Linked DNA regions of Homo sapiens: all the other regions are linked to region 1. Evidence: promoter capture Hi-C in human tissues and cell types (Jung and others, 2019). All regions are on one chromosome and are shown on one strand. Each heading gives the region's core, a stretch centred on a gene start or on the middle of the fragment in contact. The rest is flanking DNA. Distances are from core to core; before and after follow the strand shown.

Region 1 (4,056 bases), core at 786-3,285:
TTATTATACCAAAGACAACAGTAGACTACACGTATGTTCTATTCTCCAAAAGGCTGAGTATATGAACACAGAAATTAATGTCATCTTTTAATTTGTTTCCTATAGTTTAAAATAATTTAGTCTGGCCGGGTGCAGTGGCTCACGCCTATAGTCCTAGCATTTTGGGAGGCCGAGGCGGGCCGATCACTGAGGTCAGGAGTTCAAGACCAGCCTGGCCAACATGGCAAAATCCTATCTTTACTAAAAATACAAAAATTAGCCAGGCCTGGTGGCGGGTGTCTATAATACCAGCTGTTTGGGAAGCTGAGGCAGGAGAATCGCTTGAATCTGGGGGACGGAGGTTGCAGTGAGCCAAGATCGTGCCACTGCACTCCAGCCTGGGCGACAGAGTGAGACTCCATCTCAAAAAAAAAAAAAAAAAAAAAAAAAGGGCACAAACTTGAATTTCTGTGCAGGTTTTGGTGGCAGTTGCAGAAGAGCTCAAAATCTGAATAAGTATCTGCTCTACACAGCTCTGGAAGCATGAGCAATGAAGTGAAAGCTAGAGAACAGAATGAACTAAGATAATGACTGGATCATAAAATGGGTAATCATGGGATAAGCTGGATAATTAAATACCCGTGTCAGTACACAGAACAAGGTCATCACTTAAATCTTAGATTACTTCATAACAAATTCTACAATTCACTAGAATTTTGATTCTTACCATAAAATAAACTGATGTTCTCAACTTTTATATGTTTAGACTCTTCTATTAAGATAATAATTCCAGTAAGAGTTTAACAGAATTTCATTCATTCAACTCTGGCTTCCTCAATTACAAATACTCCCAAACCTTCTTCGCTTTCAAACCCCATTCTCAGTGCCTAGTAACTTCTTTACCACTTTTCACATCACAGCTTCAAGGTGGAGGAAAAGCCCCTACTTCTATTATTTTTCAATATGGCTGCTGGCTGTAACTGAGCAGCAGTGGCCACAATGAGACACCAAAAAGCACTAGGACGGGGGATATTGTCAGTGTTTAGCCAGATGTTCTAGGAATATCTTCCCTATTTTAGAATCTCCATTTTGAACAGCTTTCATGTTAGGTGAGAATCGATACTGTTCTCCCAAACTGTGGCAAACCACTAAAAGGCATTTCATGCAAAAAGACACGTTCCATTTTTGCTTTCCCACGCTTACCAAGTCGTTCGCGACTAGTACTCAACCCTCCCTAACTGCCACAGGATTTGGGCTCGGATTTTCTTAACAAGTTCCACCATGCTTTTTATTATTATTTTGGAAGGGGGAGATTCTGGACGTGACAGAGAACCCAAGAGTGGGGTGGTTGTGTGAAAAGCCAACAGACGTCTCAGAAGAGCCAAGCATTACACTCCAGACTCTAACCAGGCAGTGTGAGGCCTCGGTTCAGCGAGGATCCCTCCAAGTGAGAGGACCCCTCCAAGTGAGAGGACCCCAAGCTTCAAAAAGGGGCGGAGCAAGATCACCAAGGGGGGTCCTCAGAGGCCTCTAATGCGGTAGGACCTCAGGTTCCAGGCTCTCGCCGCACTGCCCCATCCTCCACCGCCGCATTCGCTTCGACTCCCCATTCCACCCACCCCACCCCACCCTACCCTGTCCTTCCCCCACCTCTCAACCACTCCAGTGACAGCTCAAGCGCTTGGCTCCCGCCGCCAAGTCGCAACCCCGCGTATCTCAATAAGCAGCTCTGTGATTGGCCCCTTAGCCTCACAGCGAAACCAACACTTCCCCCAACAGTGGGCCGCCGTCACGCCGATCAACTCTAAGACCCGCCCCCCGGCTTCCTTTCGTGGTACCCGGTCCCAGGAACGCCCTGAAATGAAACCCTTTACTCCGCGCCTCGACCATCCTCGGGCCTGCCAGCCAGATCCGCGCCTCTCTAGCTTCCCTGAGGAAGGCGCTGGCGAGACCCAACCTTTTTCACTTCAAAGCGCTTCTTGCCCGCGCCGCTGTTGGTGCCGCTCGGGGTATCCACATCCATCGCTGCCGCCATTTTGGAAACACACGGTCTGTCGTCCGACCACCGCGCCTGCGCAGCAGCGCACACTTCGCTCCCCCCACCTCCCCGGCACCTCCTCCCGCACCCCACCCCTTACTGGCGCGCGAGGCGGAGGTGGGGGCGGAGCACGTGACCACGCCTCTTAAAGGGGCTGTCGCAGGTCGCCCCACCCGCGAACTGTAGGCCGGGGAGGGGGCGGTGGCCGGAGTGGGTGGGGCGGGGCCGGGCGGGGCCGGGCGGGGCCGAGGCTACGTGAGCTAGCCGGGTGGAAACGTTCGAAAGGGCTCGACGTCGCCGCCTCCTCTGGGAAGCCCCCGGCCGCACTCCGTCAGCTGGGGCGGCGGCTGCTTCCTCCGCCTGAGCCAGACCTGCGCCGCAGTCCTGTCCTGCCTGCCGGGCTCGCCGAGTCGCCGCGCGGCTCCCGGTGCTGGCGTGGGTGGGCGCCCGCGGCCTGCCCCGAAACCCAAGAGTCCTCGCTGGTCTTTCGCAGACTCTGACCCGCTTCCGAGCCAGGCCCAAGGTGCAGTCCCCGTGGGAGGGCTGGGGCCCAGGCACCGTCTGGTCTCCGATTTCTGTTCGGGAACTGCTCAGGGATTCGATGGGGAGAGAGGAGACCCCCGAAGTTCCTCCCTAAGGCCACACTGAGCAGGCCCCCAGCCCTGCCTTTACTCGCCCGCCAAGCCTGGGGGGTGGCCTCTGCGCCCACATAGTCGCAGTCCTAGGACCGCCTTTGGTCGTGGTGCACGGTTTCACCGTAACGTGTGTCAGTCCCCACTCCGCATTCCTCAGTTGTCATCTTTGTAGGGTGATTTCTCCCCGATCTGTGTCCTTTTTCCGCTGCTTGTGCTGTAGTGAAACCGACCCATCTGCAGTCGCTGTATTTCTTGAATTTTTGTGAGGCATTCTTTTTTAACTCTTGTTGCCCAGGCTGGAGTGTAATGGCGCGATTTCGGCCCACTGCAACCTCCGCCTCCAGGATTCAAGCGATTCTCCTGCCTCAGCCTCCCGAGTAGCTGAGATTACAGGCGCCCGCCACCACGCCCGGCTAATTTTTTGTATTTTTAGTAGAAACGGGGTTTCACCACGTTAGCCAGGCTGGTCCCGAACTCCTGACCTCAGGTGATCCGCCTGCCTCGGCCTCCCAAAGTGCTAGAGCCGCTTTTTTTTTTTTTCTTTTTTAATTTTTTTAAAAAATAGAGACAAGGTCTCACTATGTTGCCTAGGCTGGTCTCGAACTCCTGGGCCCAAGTGATCCTCCCACTTCGGCCTCCCAAAGTGCTGGGATCACAGGAGTGAGCCATCCCACCCGACCCAAGCACCTGTACTTTGTCACTCTCCCATTTCTGGCTAGACCAGGACTCCCTTTGACATCTCTAACCTTGCAGAGGTGTGACTCTGCCAGAGCACTCTTAGATGTCGTACAGGTGCATTTGAAGCCTTGTATTTTCTCTTAAAAGATAACTGGCGGGTAATGGAGCGTGCTGACTCTATTGCTAAAGAGAAAGAATAGGCTGGGCGCGGTGGCTCACGCCTGGGAGCCACTTTGGGAGGCCGAGGCAGGTGGATTACCTGAGGTCAGGAGTTTGAGACCAGCCTGGCCAACATGACGAAACCCCGTCCCTACTAAAAATACAAAAATTAGCTGGGTGTGGTGGCACGCGCCTGTAGTCCCAGCTACTCAGGAGGCTGAGGCAGGAGAATCTCTTGAACCCGGGAGGTGGAGGTGGCAGTGAGCCGAGATCGAGCCACTCTACTCCAGCCTGGGTGACAGAGCGAGACTCCGTTCCCCCCCAAAAAAAATAATAAAAGAGAAAGAACTGAGATTTGTTTGTTAGTTATAAACAGCAACAACAGATCCGGGAAAAGACCACCACAGCTTTATCCAGACTTGGAAAGAAAAATTGTGTGAGACCTTAAAGGGCTACAAGAACCCTACAAAGTTTTTCTTAGCCCAAGTTTTAATGACTTTGTTAAAATTTCTGTTGTTAATTTGTTGTGTGCCTACAGGCCCTGACAGGAATACTAGAAACCCATTG
Region 2 (4,056 bases), core at 743-3,242, 900 kb after region 1:
TTAACTTAAAATCTGTTGTCCATGGTACATCTAACAGGAAAGTCTTTATTTAGAAGGTCTACAGAGATAACATCTGAGTAAAACCTCTCCTCAGGAAAAGGATATTACTGAGCATGAGACACCATCAGCAGGATTTTCACAGGAGAAAGACATTTAGCTCCTCAGAGAGCAGCTGTTTCATCTTTTACTTTGGATTGCCTTCCTCCACATCAGAATCTTGTACCCAGCAAGTACCCAAGACATTTCTCTTGATATGCTGACCAGGGGGTCTCCAGGTTAGAAAGCCTGGTCCACTTCCAGTTTTTGAGGCTCGAGATATGTATATATATTTTTTTAAATAAAGACATGCCAAAACACCATTATGAAAATTCTGGGCCAGGCAGGGTGGCTCACGCCTGTAATCCCAGCACTTTGGGAGGCTGCGGATCACCTGAGGTCAGGAGTTTGAGACCAGCCTGACCAACATGGAGAAATCCTGTCTCTACTAAAAATACAAAATTAGCCGGGCGTGGTGGCACACGCCTGTGATCCCAGCTACTCGGGAGGCTGAGGCAGGAGAATCACTTGAACCCAGGAGGCGGAGGTTGCGACGAGCCGAGATGGTGCCATTGTACTCCAGCCTGGGCAACAAGAGCGAAACTCTGTCTCAAAAAAAAAAAAAAAAAACCTGGCATATTTTCAATGTACACATTTAATAAATCAACACCTTTAGGAAAAAAATTCAATGTAACTGTACTATTCACAAGAGGATTAATAAACATGTTCCCTTGTCATAAACCACAGATAGTGTTACCTGGTAAGAAGTTTAAAGGTATAATCAGTATCATCTTTCAATCCTGTGACTTTATCTCGACTGTTTACACCTACTATGTGCAAACCATTCTAGTGGGTGCCATGACAAAACAAAGTAGCATAAACTCATTTTGAGCTCAAGGTATCCAAGATGAGAACCCATGACGACTTCTTACTCTGTTGAGATACTACAAGGAACTTCCAATGAATATAGTCTACCTGTGCCCATGGGAGGAATCTGGTGGCCTTGCCCCATCAAATCTGCTACCATCTCTATTCAAGCAACTTCCATTTTTCTTTCTCCGCTGGGTGCTTCCTGTATATCTTTTAATAGATTATAGATTTTTCTTTCTTTTTTTTTTTTTTTTTGAGACAGGGTGTCACTCTGTCTCTCAGGCTGGAGTGTAGTGATGCAATCCTAGCTCACCGCAGCCTCCAACTCCTGGGCTCATGCAATCCTCCTGCCTCAGCCTTTTGAGTAGCTAGGACTACAGGCATGTGCCATCATGCTCAGTTGATGTTTAAAACATTTTTTGTAGAGATGGGGGTCTCACTATGTTGCTCAAGCTGGTCTCGAACTCCTGGCCTCAAGTGATCCTCTTACTCTGGCTTCCCAAAGTGCTGGGATTACAGGCATGAGCCACTGCACCCAGCCTGATTTTCTATCTTACTTAAAGGTGTTGCCTTCTCAACCTCGTCCTGCTTCCATTTTTCTCTGTCCTTTCTCTTCCAAACATCTTAAACTAAACTGCATTCATTACTACCATTCTCCCTATCATCACTTAGCTCCTTAGCCCTTTGTTATGTAGATCAAATACATACACAGAACTTGCAGAAATCGGCATTACCGTAAGTCAATTAACATCTTGTGAGTGTAATCAGCACTACCAGAGCATAATCACTTCTTCCCATTTGAAAAATATCAAGCTCTGAATATGCAAAGCTGAGAAACATTAGTTTAGCCAACAAGGTATGGACATCCTGCAACTGAAAGCAACTTAGCGGAAATAGAATGGAAGATGGCTAGAGATGGGGTGGATGGGGAAAGGAGACACTACTTAAGAGTAACAGGGAGAGAAAAATGGATAGGAGGAGACAGAAAAGGAAAGAGACATTGAAAACAAATAGGAGTAAATGAAGGAAAATGGGCTACATTTTTATCCAATTAATCTCCCTTTTTCAAATCTGGTTGAGAATTAAATTAGATTAATGTTAGCTCAGTGAACCACTTGGAGACTTGGAGATATGTAAAGACCTTCAAGCTGTAGGAACTGTCTTTCCCAGAACATATACCAGAGGCCCTTCTGGGTAGTCCTCTTTTCTGATTTCCTCTCTTTCACTGGTTCAGTGTCTGATCCATTTGAGATGGTATCAGCACTCACCTCAGGTGATCTAGAAGTCACTTCCTTTACACTCTCTGCTCCTACAGATAAGCTTAAATGAGTCACCACTTTCTAATTCCACCTAACATCATTTGCATGGTTATAGGTACACCACTGAAGCAAGTATATTAACTAGAAGTGACAAGTGCCGTTGTGGTTTATGATTATCTTCTCTGAATGGTACTCTATGCCTTTATGAATTCAAACATACAGATTCAGATCATTATTCTAAGGTCATTTCCTGTCCTAAACTGCAGTGGAGTAAGAGGCTGAGTCTGACATATCATGGTTCAACTGTAAGTCAGCTATTAGCCCTGTACCCTAATGCCAGCCTTGTAAAGCATACCGCTGTGCCGGTCATCTTCTCCACATACTAAAAACGCTCCCCCATGCCTCTACACAGGCTGTTCTCTCTGCCGGAAATGCCCTTTTCCTCCACAACTTAGTGTGAGTGTCACCTTCCCTGGGAAGGCTTTCTCAACCTCCCCATCGTGTTGATGACCTTCCTTTTCATCCCCGCAGCACCTCTTGTACTGTCTATTACAGCACTTATTACACTAAATGGCACTCATCTGTGTCCACATCTGTCTCACCCACCTGGCTGTGCATTCCTTGGGAACAAAGATCTCCTTTCGCCCCACCTCTGTAGTCCTGGCTCCTAGCACAGCATTCAGCATGTCTATGCATTCAAATGTTTAGTGAGAGCGTCATCATGTCAAGCCCAAGCATAATTTCTTTTCTTTTTTTGGAGACGGAGTCTTGTTCTGTCACCCAGGCTGGAGCTTAATGGTGCAATCTCAGCTCACTGCAACCTCTGCCTCCCGGGCTCAAGCAACCTTCCTGTATCAGCCTCCCGAGTAGCTGGGACTACTGGCGCGCACTACTACAACCAGCTAATTTTTTTTTTTTTTGTAGAGATGGGTTTCACCATGTCACCCAGGCTGGTCTCGAACTCCTGGACTCAAGTGACCTGCCTGCCTTGGCCTCCCAAAGTGCTGGCATTACATGCATGAGCCACCAAGCTTTGCCTAAAATGAGGTTTTTTAGAAATTCTATTTTAAATTCTCTTTCTTAACTTCATTTGAAAAAATATTTATTGAGGACCTACTATGTGCAACTCACAGTGCTAGATGTTGGTGACACAAATGTGAATAAAACAGAGTATTTTTATTCATGTAGCTATTTTCCAGAAGGGGAAATATAATATACAAATTAAATAATTATACAATTGATATCTTCTAATGTGGGGCGGGGTGATTAGGAAGTCATTAAAGAGGAGACACACACACTGAGCTCAGGATTGAAGAGGCATTAACTAAGGTTGGGCCTGCGGGCTTCCAGCTGTGAGAATAGTATGCTCAAGGAAGGGACCTTGGGTAGTGAAGAACACACATTTCCGGAACTTGAAGAGGGTCAGTATGGTGAGAGTACACTCAGCAAGGGGGAAGACAGTAGGAAAAGAGGCAGGGGACGCTGGCAGAAGCTTCACTGGGCAGTCAGTGAAAAAGGCAAGAACAAGAATTCAGGTTCTTATCAGGGTCTTTAGGCCTCACTGACAGTTTTGTTTTTGAGACAGGGTCTCACTCTGTCACCCACACTGGAGTGTGGTGGCGCAATCTCGGCTGACTGCAACCTCTGCCTCCAGGCTCAAGCTAGCCTCCCACCTCAGCCTCCTGAGTAGCTGGGACTACAGGCAGGCACCACCACGCCCAGCTAATTTTTGTATTTTTTGCAGAGACAGGGTTTTGCTATGTTGCCCAGGCTGGTCTTGACCTCCTGAGCTCAAGATATTCACCCACCTCAGCTTCCCAAAGTGCTGGGATTACAGGCACGAGCCTGTGCACCCAGTTATTAACAGTTTTAAGTAGGGGAGAAATATGAT
Region 3 (4,056 bases), core at 881-3,380, 670 kb before region 1:
GGAGTTTGAGGTTACAGTGAGCTACGATGATCTCACCACTGCACTCCAGCCTGTCTCTATTAAAAAATTAAAAAATATATATATTTCATTAGGAAATAAATATTGAAAGATACTTGAAAGAAAAATACAAAAATGTCAAAATGCTGGTAGTGGTTGTGTTAGAGTGGTAGATTATAGCAAATTTTTTTCTTTTTTGTATTTCCTATGTTTCTCACTTTTTTTTTTTTCCTGAGAGAGTCTCATTCTGTCACCCAGGCTGGAATGCAGTGGCGCCATCTCGGCTCACTGCAAGCTCCACCTCCCAGGTTCGCACCATTCTCCTGCCTCAGCCTCCCGAGCAGCTGGGACTACAGGCGACCGCCACCACGCCCGGCTAATTTTTTGTATTTTTTTTTTAGTACAGACGGGGTTTCACCGTGTTAACCAGGATGGTCTTGATCTCCTGACATCGTGATCCGCCCGCCTCGGCCTCCCAAAGTGCTGGGATTACAGGCTTGAGACACCGCGCCTGGCCGTTTCTCATTTTTAATAAAAATATTCAAAATTTTTCTGCTCAGGAGTTAAATTAACCAGTATGAAGATTACATGTACCCCTATTTCTCTTCCTTTGTTTTATGTGTTACTGTGTTGCCTGCACATACACTCCCAAACGTGGAGGCTATAGTGAGGGAATCAATCACTTTCCTGTAACTGTGTTGCTTGCGTTTATTCTTTGGTTGGTGTAGTTATTGCAGGGTGGGGGCATTTTTACACTGAGGTCCTGGAATGGTAACACTACTTTCCTGGATGAGAAGGGTCTCACCTGAACCACTTAAGATGACAAAAAATACCTATGGTCATGGCCATTTATCAGGGACCAAAAGATGTCAAACTACCAGTGTCCAAAAAAAACTTAGGGCACACTAGAGTAAGATCTGCATATAAGAGCCTAGGGTAGCTCTGCGAAGTTCAAAGGAAGAAAAGAATTTCAGAATTATCTGGGAGGAGAAGGGCAGGCCATCAAACAGCAAAGTCCATCCAGCAGAGATAGGCAGGGAAGGTCTTTCTTCCACACACCGAATGGCACTACATGCTGAAGTCACTTACCACTTGCTTCAAGGTTCTCTTCTTGTTCTTCCTCTGCTTCTTCATCGCCCTCGGTTTTGTAATATGACTCCCACCCTGACATGTTGGCTACTGCTCACTAGGCGAAAGACGTTAACGTCAGTAACAGGCAAATTTAAATCGAAAAAATACCGACCTCTAGGTTCTTGTGAGATCTGTTCTAAAAGCTTGGTTAGTAGTGAGGAATGTGGACGGTAAATCCTGCTGCCTCGAAAGCTCGGCAGTCGGACTGCATGTAAATGCGCATGGGGGCCATCCCAGTAGCTGCCTCATCTCAGCTATCCCTCACGTTTCAGGGCCGGCGGCGGCCCGCGGAAGCCAGATCCCGGAGGTCCCGCCCCCGACGCCATTTAGACGGTGAGGGATTCCCGCTCCAGGATTCTATGCTGACTAACGGACCCCCTCGTCCTCAATACCGCCCAAAAACCTCCCCAAATTCCTCAATCACGCCCAATGAGATCTCAAACGCAGACAGGCCTCAAGCGCAGGCGGGCCGCAAGCGCAGGCGGGCCTCAAACGCAGGCGGGCCTCAAACGCGAGGTGCCGCCTCCTTCCCGAGGAAGGAGCGTGGTCTCGAGTCTGTCGCTGCTCCTCGGATTCGCACACTTAAGGCTAACGCTAACCCTCTAGCAAGGCTATGGGGGCGCGCGAGACCGACCGAGCGAAGCGGGACGAGGCCAGGCCTAGCTGGCGAACAACACAAATGGATAACGGCCCGCTTACCTTTGGCGCAGGGAAGCGACCAACTTGGACAGAAGACGACAATCCACGCATGCGCGGGCCCTGTACTCGGTCCCAATCAACGCCCTCTACGTCATCACGCATGTGCGCACTATATCGCGTCAGGCTGGCACGCACACTCCCCAACCAGCTTCTACCTATGTCCCTGACGAAAGCCAACCCATCAGCGAGAGCCCCGCCCCCTTCGGCAAAGCCCCGCCCCTTCCTACGTCAGGACTGTAAGCACATGCGCAAAAGTGCATCCCTGCCCCCGCCCCCTCTTCCGTGTGGGCCCTCCCTGTCCCCTCTCTGTCACCTCACAGTAGTCGTTGCCGGTAGCGGGTGTGGGGGCGCGAGCAGCGCAGGGCGGCCTCTCCCCCACCCCTCAGCCCGGGCCCGGGCTCGGTCCCCCCCTCTCCCTCCGCTTCGCACTCCCGTCGGGTACGGGAAGGTCCAAGCCGCTGCCGGGTGCCCGAGGGCCGTCGTGGCCGCCGTCGCCACGGGTCCCAATGGAGCCGCCGAATCTCTATCCGGTGAAGCTCTACGTGTACGACCTGTCCAAAGGCCTGGCCCGGCGGCTCAGCCCCATCATGCTGGGTGAGGGGGAAGGGGCCAGGTGGGCAGGAGGGCGGGAGCCAGGCCAGAGGGTGGCGGCTGGCCGAGGTGGGGAGACTTGGGCCACGACTCACGGGGAGACACATGGCCAGGAGGATGGAAGAAAAGCCGAGTGGAGAAGAGAGTGGTCTGAAGTTTGGGCCATCTGAGCCCCGCTTTAGCCTCGCAGATACCATCCTCACGTTTGAATTCAAGGGGAAGGGATGGAGGAGTCATGCCTCCACCTTGCAGGGGGCTTGGGCAGAAACCGAGCCCTCGAGAGCCCCTTCGACGAGGGTGTGGGGTAAACCAGCGCTGGATCCCGGCGGGTTCTCTGCCTCGCTCGGGTAGCCCAGTGCACTCCTGCCTCCTTGGCGCGGTGTAGGAAAGGTGAGGATGCCTGCCGCGCGGTGCCCCTCGTGGTGACAGAGACACTGCGGAGGTCGGGTGGCTCTCGGAGAACCTTGTCTCAGTGCCAAAAGGAAGCTCCCTTTGCAGTCCCAGGGATAGGTGGGATGGGGGAGATAGAGCTGCCTAGGGACCCAGCCATCGCCCCCAGGTAGGTCAAGTCAGGATAAGAGGAGCCCCGAACTCCAGAATTCACCAAGCAGTCTTCTCCCCACAGTTTCTAAGTTAATTGCTTTTGCTCAAATGGCAAGAAAGCAGTTTTGGGGGAAGTTTGGATGAGGCTGTGTGAATAAGGATTAGTAAAGAAAGTATTTCGGTTGTGCTCCATTAAACTACTTAACTGGCAGGAGAAAAACCAGCCCTCATTCAGTGACGATCACACCTTATTTCAACTTAAATACAGGAATGTCTTGTGTAACACAGGAATTGTCAGGTTTGTAATTTCGGGTAACAATGAGCAGGAAAGAATTCCAATTATTGAAAATTGAAGCTTTGACAGCATCCATTTGAATGGCTAGTTTTTCCTGGCTTCTGTGGAGACACTGGCGAATGATTTAGTTCATCTCTGTGAGACGAGGGGGCAGAGATCAAGTAAGGGAGGCTACTTTTGAGGGCATCCTTCAATGTCCTTGAGTTTCTAATATGTCGTAGTGAATTGAACTTAATCTCACAACCGTGGGTCCATGAGTTGTTTCTATATTTGGCTTCACATCAAAATCATCTAGGGTGCTTGTTAAAAATGCAGATACCCTCATTTCCAACATATATTGTAAATGAGATTAGAAAAAACAAGGTTAGAATAGCTCTTTAAATATGCAAATCAAAGGATATATATGTGCTTGCTTAGGCAAATAATTATCCGTAAGGATACACAAGAAATTGATAACAGCAGTAGCTTATGGAAAGGGGAACTTGATGCCAGGGGAACAGGGGTAGAAGAGAAACTTTGCTGTAAACTGTTTCTTACCTCTGGACCTGTGTATTACATACACATAATATCTATTTAAAATGAGAAAATTTTAATTATATGGATTCTAAGGCTTCACAAATACTAAATCAGAATCTCCTGGAGTTTTGGTCCAAAAATCTGTATTTTTAATGAGCTTATCAGCTAATTCTTATGTAGCCAACCCATTATTTGACAGGGATTTGGGCCTAGATAACCAGTTGTTAAAATGATTGAGGCACATCTGAAAGCAAAACTTACAAAGTCACTGAGGAAGCTGTTAC
Region 4 (4,056 bases), core at 1,101-3,600, 640 kb before region 1:
AGTGGGAAGATCTGGTTCGTTGCAGCCTCAGCTTCCTGGTGATTCTCCTACTTTAGCCTCCTGAGGGACCACAGGTGCCTGCCACCATGCCTGGCTAATGTTTTGTATTTTTAGTAGAGACAGCATTTTGCCATGTTGCCCAGGCTGATCTTGACCTCCTGGGTTCAAACAATCCACCCACCTTGGCCTCCCAAAGTGCTGGAATTACAGGTGTGAGCCACCGCATCCAGCTCTACAGTTATTTTTTATTTATTTAGTTAGTTAGTTAGTTAGTTAGTTTGTTTGTTTGAGGTGTAGTCTCCCTCTGTCTCCCAGGCTGGAGCGCAGTGGCATCATCTCGGCTCACTGCAACCACCGCCTTCCAGGTTCAAGTGATTCTTCCGCCTCAGCCTCCCAAGTAGCTGGGATTACAGGCTCCTGCCACCATGCCCGGCTAATTTTTGTATTTTTAGTAGAGACGGACTTTCCCCATGTTGGCCAGGCTGGTCTCAAACTCATGACCTCAGGTGATCTGCCCATCCCGGCCTCCCAAAGTGTTGGGATTACAGGCGTGAGCCACCGCGCCCAGCCTGTTACTTATTTTCATGTGAAAAGCAAACCTACAAAGCAGGTGGTGTTCATCCCATTTTATAGGTGAAGACACAAAGCCTCTGAGAGGTGAAGTGACTTGTCCAAGGTCCCATAGTGGTGGAGCTGGGAAGGCAACCTGGAAGTGACTCCAAAGTCAACGCAATGGTTAAATAATTGTGAATCGAATCTGGGAAGGTTGGCTGGGAACGGTGGCTCATGCCTGTATTCCCAGCACTTTGGGAGGCTGAGGCAGGCAGATCACCTGAGGCCAGGAGTTCGAGACCAGCCTGGCTAACATGGTGAAAATACAAAATTACTACTAAAAATAAAAAATTAGCCGAGCGTGGTAGTGGGTACAAAATAATCCCAGCTACTCGGGAGGCAGAGGTTGTGGTGAGCTGAAATCGTGCCATTGCACTCCAGCCTGGGCAACAAGAGCAAAACTCCGTCTCAGAAAAAAAAAAAAAATTAGCCGGGCGTGGTGGCGCACTTCTGTAGTTTCAGCTACTCAGGAGGCTGAGGCAGGAGAATCACTTGAACCTGGGAGGCGGAGGTTGCAGTGAGCCGAGATCATGCCACTGCACTCCAACCTGAGTAACAGAGTGAGACCCAGTCTCAAAAAATAAATAAATAAATAAATAAATCGCCCTGTGTCAAAAATAAAATAAAATAAACATAAAAGTAAGTAAAAATACAAAAATTAGGTGGGCATGGTGGCACACGCCTGCAGTCCCAGCTACTCGGGAGGCTGAGGCATGAGAACCGCTTGAACCTGGGAGGTGGAGGTTGCAGTGGGCAGAGATCCCGCCACTGCACTCCAGCCTGGGCAGAGCGAGACTCTGTCTCAAAAAAAAAAAAAAAAAAGAAGAATCTGGGAAGGTCTCCAAGCAGGTAGACCCTGAGAGCTGGGTCTTATGTGTGGACAGAAGGAATAAGGCTCGGGGAAGGCAATTTGGCAAAGTCCAAAGCCTGAACAAAGGCCTTCAGGAGATTTCTTTTCTTTTCTTTTCTTTCCTTTTTTTTTTTTTTTTTTTTTTTTGAGGCTGGAGTGCAATGGCGCGATCTCGGCTCACCGCAACCTCTGGCTTCTTTGGAATCAAGCGATTCTCCTGCCTCAGCCTCCTGAGTAGCTGAGATTACAGGCATGCGCCACCACGCCTGGCTAATTTTGTATTTTTAGTAGAGACGAGGTTTCTCCATGTTGGTCAGGCTGGTCTCGAACTCCCGACCTCCGGTGATCCGCCCGCCTCGACGTCCCAAACTGCTGGGATTACAGGCGTGAACCACCGCGCCCGGCTCAGGAGATTTCCTACAGCTCAAAATTTGTAAGGCAAAGAGATGGCCACAAACCTTGTGAGAGTGGATGGGGAGCGACCTCGGCTCTCTTAGTCCCGCCTGGCCCACTAGACACTGCACTGCATGGTAGAGGCCCCGCCCGACCCAGCCCCTTAATCGGCCTGTTGCAATCACTATCAACCCGCCAATTCTGGCCCCGCCCCTGTCTTCCGGGTTCACCCTCTCACTTCCTGCGGGTCCCAGGCTCAGGCCCCTCCTCCGCCTTGTTTGGAGCAATCCAATCGAACCTGGAGGGCTCCGCTCCGCCCTATGCCGCGCTCCCCTCCTCCACGAGCAATGAGAATCAGCTCAGGCCCCGCCCCCGCTTCCGCCCGCCTAGACCACGCCCCTTCTTCATTTGGCCAATCAGGCAGTCCACTGGCCCCCGCCCCCTAATGCCCCGCCCCGTCAGCACTTATCCCTGAGCTGCTTCTGCCGTTGCATCTTCGGGACTCCGCCCCGCGCGCGGACCTGCAGCCATGGCAGTCACCGCCCAGGCAGCCCGCAGGAAGGAGCGCGTCCTCTGCCTGTTTGACGTGGACGGGACCCTCACGCCGGCTCGCCAGGTAGGACCCTGAAGATTGGAAGCTCCCACCGGGAGTGTCACGCGGACACCCCCGAGGCTGAGTGTGGGGTCTGCAGCAGCGTGACCGTGGACACCCGGGGACCGAGTGTGGGATGCGGCGGTACCCGGCCCCCTGACATCCGGGGCCACCCACCGGGAGTGAGGGGACCTGGCCCTCACGTCACTGACCCCGCAGCGTCCTTGCCTGTGTTCTGCTTGGGAGTGCTGGGGTTGGATCCAGTACTGGAGGGAGGAGGCTGCGAGCAGGGGCCTAGCTCCCTCCCTCCCCGGAGGCTGTCACACGCCGCTAAGGCCTGGCTCACGGACGCCCCCGCCTCCTGAGCTGGGGATCCCACCCTAGTTCAGCCCTACGACACACCAGTGGTCGGAGCTGGCTTCTGAACCGGGGTTCCAGGCACACAAGCACACAGCCAAGCGTCAGTCATCATCTGGTGGGAGACAGGGCGTCTCGGAGTCTTCCCACCCCGACCTTTGCAGGCCTGGGACTGGGTCTAGTTTCTGAAGCCCCATCACCCACTTTACCTTCCACCCCCAGTCGTGGAGCAGAGAGGGCTTCTTTTCAAATTCGTTTATGAGCTCTACCCACCCGGATGTGAGAGGCTCCAGGCCTAGCCTGTTTGCTGTGAGGACACTGAGGAATAGTGAGGGTAAGAGTCTAGTTTTCTTCTAAAGACTCTCGCTGTGTTGAGCCTCTTACCTCTGCTCAGTTTTTCTCCCATTGGGTCTCATTGTGAGTGAGTCCCCAAAAGCCCCCTCACCAGCTGGATGCATCAGTAAGCAGGCTTCATTCATGCCCTCCCTGTGGGTAACCCACCCTCCAGTCTGGGGGCCTCAAGGACCAACCAACAGGTCTCCTAGCGTGGGGGAGCAGTGGGATGGGCTTTACTGGGCAGTGGCTGATGGGAACCCAGGTCTTAGCCTCCTCTCTTAGGTCCCGAATGCCCCTCCCCATCCTCTGTGGTGAAGTTGCCCTGGCTTGGGCCCTGGAGGCCTTCCTGCAGGGGTGGATCCGGGAGGAAGATAGCAGGACTGGAGCAAAGGTGGGCCATTTGCTTGTGGGTCACGCCTGTAATCCCAGCACTTTGGGAGGCCATGGTGGGCAGATCACCTGAGGTCAGGAATTCTAGATCAGTCTGGCTAACATGGTGAAACCCCGTCTCTACTAAAAATACAAAAATTAGGCTGGGTTCAGTGGCTCACGCCTGTAATCCCAGCACTTTGGGAGGCCGAGGCAGACAGATCACGATGTCAGGAGTTTAAGACCAGCCTGACCAATATCGTGAAACCCTATCTCTACTAAAAATACAAAAAATTAGCCAGGCGTGGTGGCATGCACCTGTAATCCTAGCTAGTCGGGAGGCTGAGGCAGGAGAATCACTTGAACCCGAGAGGCAGAAGTTGCAGTGAGCCGAGAATGTGCCATTGCACTACAGCCTGGGCGACAGAGGGAGACTCAGTCTCAAAACAAAACAAAACAAAAAGTAGATGGGCGTGGTGTCGTGTGCCTGTAGTCCCAGCTACTGGGGAGGCAGAGGCAGGAGAATCGATTGAACCCAGGAGGTGGA
Region 5 (4,056 bases), core at 695-3,194, 520 kb after region 1:
GGACAGTGTCCGTTTTCTCTTGATTCTTTGTACTTACTGTCTCATGCATGTGCTAAGCTTTCCAAGAGCCAAGGTTACGTGTGATGCATCACACCCGGGTTCCTGCAGAGCAGGACGTTTGGAGTTGAGCTAGCGTTACACAGTAGAAGCAGGTGCAGGGGGTGTCTATTTACCCACTGAAATGCCCACGACCTGCCCATGTAAGAAGTGGGGAATCCTGGATAGTGCCCAGGTAGGTTGGGGAGGTAACTTGTACTGGTTTTTCTTTGATGTTATTTGTTAAATCTAGAGCTCCCCCTTCTGTTAGAAGATGGGATCTCAGTAGTACTTTTAAGACTGTAGTTTCTTTTTTATCTTAAGATTCACAAAAAATTTTTAAAAATAAATACCACTGGGACAATTGAAGCTTTCTTCTGGGACTGCTGTTGCTGAGGCCCAGCCCCCCGCTGGGGGTGGAGAGGAAGGAGGAAGAAGCACAACGGCCCAGGCAGGATAGGGTCCTATCTATGCTCTCTTGCTACTTTTAGCAGCTCCTTAACCCTGCACTCCTACCGCAGCCAGCAGCCTAGCAAAAGTTATCTCTGCTCGCAGTTTCACAGCTCTTTGGAAATTCTAGGGCAGGAGAAGTGAAACTGACCACAGTCTTATAAATTTCTCTCTTATTGCCTCTGTTCCCTACTTGAAGTGAGTCAGGCCTTTCCCTCTCATCCTCAGAGTGTCTTAAGTTGCTATTTGTCCTTACAGCCAAGTTTTTGACAAAAGGAGTCAGACCTTCCATTCATGGTGCAGCCTTTCTGGAGGCTCTTGGTTTGGTCTTGCCACCTGAGTGTTGTTTGCAGAAGTCGAGACTTGTGGTCTTTGTGTGGTATCCCCAGAATAGAGCTGAGCCCTTCGTCTCAGCTGTCGGTTGTGTGTGTTCCTTCACATACAATTGCCATGGGGTTCTTTTAGTCCTTAGAGATGAAATTCAAGTTAATTTTAGCAGCACTATAAATAACAGGTGCAGTGAAGAAGGAAATAGTGCCGAGTGGACATATATCTTTTTGGTTTTAACTGTCCCATTGAAACAGTTTGGCCACTTTATGATTCCTCGTGAGGTTGAGGAAGTAAGGTTAATTTGGCATGCATCTGTGCCCCTTCCTGTGTGCAGGTGTCCTGAGAATAATGTGAGGCCTAGCAGGCGTTCTTGGAGTCCTAGCTGAAGGGGGATTTGCGGCTGACGGTCCAGTCATGGGCCAGGGTGTTTGTTAAAGTTACATTCCATGGGTGCACTTTATATAGCCCAAGCTTAGGCAGTGACAGTTCCCATTAGGAGTCATATTTTGGTTTCTACCAAAACTGTTTGAATGGGGTAGCTAAACCATAAAGATACATGCTTACTCAGGTGTCATTGCCTTCACTTCAACTGATATTTATAGTACTACTAACAGTAATGTGATTTTTTTTTTTTTTTTTTGGGGGACGGTTTCTCGCTCTGTTGCCCAGGCTAGAGTGCAGTGGCGCAATCTCGGCTTACTGCAAGCTCTGCCTCCCAGGTTCACGCCATTCTCCTGCCTCAGCCTCCCTTGTAGCTGGGACTTCAGGCGCCCACCACCACCACGCCTGGCTAATTTTTTGTATTTTTAGTAGAGACAGGGTTTCACCATGTTAGCCAGGATGGTCTCGATCTCCTGACCTCGTGATCTGCCTGCCTCAGCCTCCCAAAGTGTTGGGATTACAGGCGTGAGCCACCACGCCCAGCCAGTAACATGAATTTAAGATGCCTTCTCCACTGAATATCGTAGCACTAGACATGATGCTTCGCTTGAAGGTAATCTTTACGGTTCTTCTCTCAACAGCTTTGAAAAGTCCAGCCGCATTTCATGAGCAGAGAAGGAGCTTGGAGCGGGCCAGGGTAAGGTACCTTTTTTCCCCCTCAGAACTCCCAAAGAGCATTTTCAGAGCTCATTGCATTGCTGGTTATATTTCCATTTAGAGCTTTCCATAGAACTCTGAGGCCAGAGCCTGCTAGACTCTAGGGCCAGCCCTGGCCTTGTGGTTTTAAATGGAAAGCTCTGCTTCTCCTACTTCATCCCTTCTCTCATTTACCTCCCATGGTGATTATATGGAACATGATTGGAATGAGGTTTCTCTTTTTGTACATTTAAGGATATGGAATGATCACCCGATCCTCCTTGCCTGAATTTTGGAGTGCTTTGGAGACCACTGGTATTTCCCCATCTTTAATTCCACTTAACGTTTTGTAGATGTTGGGACACAAACATTAGCCAATGGAAAAGCTTCCCAAGTCCGGGGTTACACTGGCCACACCTCACAGGACGGGCATTCCAAGGGGCAGGAAACCTTCTTGGTCTCCATCTGCCCAGAGTAGGTGGTATCCACTTGACTCTTGTGGAAAGCAGAAACTGGCCCACACTCCAAGCCCAAGTTTTCTGCCACAGCACCTTACTTGCGTCCCCATCCCAACTCTGTTTCGGTTCCCCAGGGGCCCCTGAGGAATATTCTGCTGCCCAGTGTGGGTAGAGATGGGGAAGTCACCAGAACTTGCTTCCCCCTCACACTCCCTTTACTTTTTCCTTTCACATAAAATCATGGGAAGATAATCCCCCTAGACAGATCATGGGCTGCATCTCCTTAAGACCCACGGCTATTTTATTTTACTTTATTTTTTGAGACGGAGTCTCACTCTGTCACCCAGGCTGGAGTGCAGTGGCGTGATCTCAGTTCACCGCAGCCTCCGCCTACCAGATTCAAGCGATTCTCCTGCCTCAGCCTCCCAAGTAACTGGACCTACAGGCTCCCGCCACCACGCCTGGGTAATTTTTGTATTTTTAGTAGAGATGGGGTTTCACCATGTTGGCCAGCCTGGTCTCAAACTCTTGGCCTCAAGTGATCTGCCTGCCTTGCCCTTCCAAAGTCCTGGGATTACAGGCATGAGCCACCACACCCAGCCTCACAGCTATTTTAGAGTCTCAGAAATATTTACCTCCAAGACTTTTTTTTTTTTTTTTTAAACTTTCTTTCATTCCCCTCTCCCCAGAAAATCATGATTAATTCTTAGAGTAAGTGGAAAGAATGAGGTCATGGGTCCTGGGAACCAAAGGAGTAACAAGCAGCAGTGGTTTAGTTTGCTGAGAGCACTGGAGAGTACAGTGTTGGGGGAAAGGATGGCGTTGCCTGTGCGCCTATTCGGTCAGAAGACTGGGCACCATTTACTTGACTGCTTCTCAAATAGGCAGGGACCAGCAGAGCTGATTAGAAGAGACTGTTTTATTGAGCACCTTTATGTAAGAGGTTGTATCTGTTTCTTTTTTATCCTCACATCAACTCTTATGAATTAGGTGGTATTATCCTCATTTTATAGATGCAGCTAAGAGAAGTTAACTCACTTGTCCAGCCAATAAGTGGCAAAGCTGGGAGTCAAACCTTTGTGGATTCTAGATTTTTTTTGAGCAAAATGATTTTATTTCCTAACACATGGTAACCATAACGTTCAATTTGCTTACCATGCACATCTATTCACAAATGACTTCCACATTACAATAACTACTTCCATATTTACACATGTACTAAAAATTATCTTAGTTGAGATATGAAACATGAATATATTGGATTGGTTATAGCAGAATTTGCTTTACTTAATTCTAAAAGCTTAAAGCTTTGAAAAGCTGCTACTTTTGCATCTCATACTTCCAGATGAATAAGACACAGCAATATCAGCTCGTATTCAAGAGAAGTTTCATTTCTTTTTCTGGTGTTGGAACCAGCTGCTCACATCTGTGCGTGCTACATAAGGCAGCTATACATGGTGGTGGGAAAGCATCCACAATGGCTTCAGCTATGTCAGGATCACACTTGAGGGGCTCTGAGATGCTGTTGTATTTACACAACTGATTGCTTTGTTTTCCTTTTTTTGTAATTTTAGAGGTGGGATTTTGCTATGTTGCCCAGGCTGAATCCCAACTCTTGGGCTTAAGCAATCCTTCTGCCTTTGACCTCCTGAATAGCTGGGATGTGTAGGCATCTACCACTGTACCTTGTCAAACTGATTTTGTT

Evidence for each region. Contacts are between HindIII fragments. The study calls those that stand out against the background at their distance.
Region 2: a contact is called between a fragment that was not itself captured here and the fragment with the promoter of RBX1 in region 1, in 1 of the 25 tissues and cell types used here (lymphoblastoid cells).
Region 3: a contact is called between the fragment with the promoter of DESI1 here and the fragment with the promoter of RBX1 in region 1, in 2 of the 25 tissues and cell types used here (dorsolateral prefrontal cortex and spleen).
Region 4: a contact is called between the fragment with the promoter of PMM1 here and the fragment with the promoter of RBX1 in region 1, in 3 of the 25 tissues and cell types used here (adrenal gland, dorsolateral prefrontal cortex and spleen).
Region 5: a contact is called between a fragment that was not itself captured here and the fragment with the promoter of RBX1 in region 1, in 2 of the 25 tissues and cell types used here (dorsolateral prefrontal cortex and spleen).

The regions. Positions count from the first base shown.
Region 1 is chr22:40,949,357-40,953,412 of GRCh38, reverse strand. It overlaps RBX1 (ring-box 1), which reads right to left and starts at 2,035. Exons shown (of 5, transcript NM_014248.4): 1 at 1,937-2,035. The coding sequence starts at 2,014. RefSeq lists enhancers at 715-1,303, 1,759-1,968, 2,483-3,073 and a silencer at 2,019-2,598. The HindIII fragment of the contact is 18,244 bases long and covers 1-4,056 here.
Region 2 is chr22:40,053,903-40,057,958 of GRCh38, reverse strand. It overlaps a transcript of TNRC6B not described here. Among named protein-coding and RNA genes, the nearest start is that of TNRC6B-DT, 11 kb to the right of the region's middle. The HindIII fragment of the contact is 4,520 bases long and covers 1-4,056 here.
Region 3 is chr22:41,619,117-41,623,172 of GRCh38, reverse strand. DESI1 (desumoylating isopeptidase 1) reads left to right here and starts at 2,130. Exons shown (of 6, transcript NM_015704.3): 1 at 2,130-2,421. The coding sequence starts at 2,334. XRCC6 (X-ray repair cross complementing 6) reads right to left here and starts at 1,878. Exons shown (of 13, transcript NM_001469.5): 1 at 1,828-1,878; 2 at 1,087-1,183. The coding sequence starts at 1,168. RefSeq lists a silencer at 2,110-2,379 and enhancers at 2,111-2,712, 3,985-4,044, 4,055-4,056. The HindIII fragment of the contact is 13,467 bases long and covers 1-4,056 here.
Region 4 is chr22:41,588,134-41,592,189 of GRCh38, reverse strand. It overlaps PMM1 (phosphomannomutase 1), which reads left to right and starts at 2,350. Exons shown (of 8, transcript NM_002676.3): 1 at 2,350-2,471. The coding sequence starts at 2,385. RefSeq lists a silencer at 2,002-2,151 and an enhancer at 2,546-3,225. The HindIII fragment of the contact is 27,075 bases long and covers 1-4,056 here.
Region 5 is chr22:40,433,337-40,437,392 of GRCh38, reverse strand. MRTFA (myocardin related transcription factor A) reads left to right here. Exons shown (of 15, transcript NM_020831.6): 5 at 1,839-1,894. Among named protein-coding and RNA genes, the nearest start is that of SGSM3, 65 kb to the right of the region's middle. RefSeq lists enhancers at 363-412, 483-532, 653-782, 1,043-1,102. The HindIII fragment of the contact is 3,423 bases long and covers 233-3,655 here.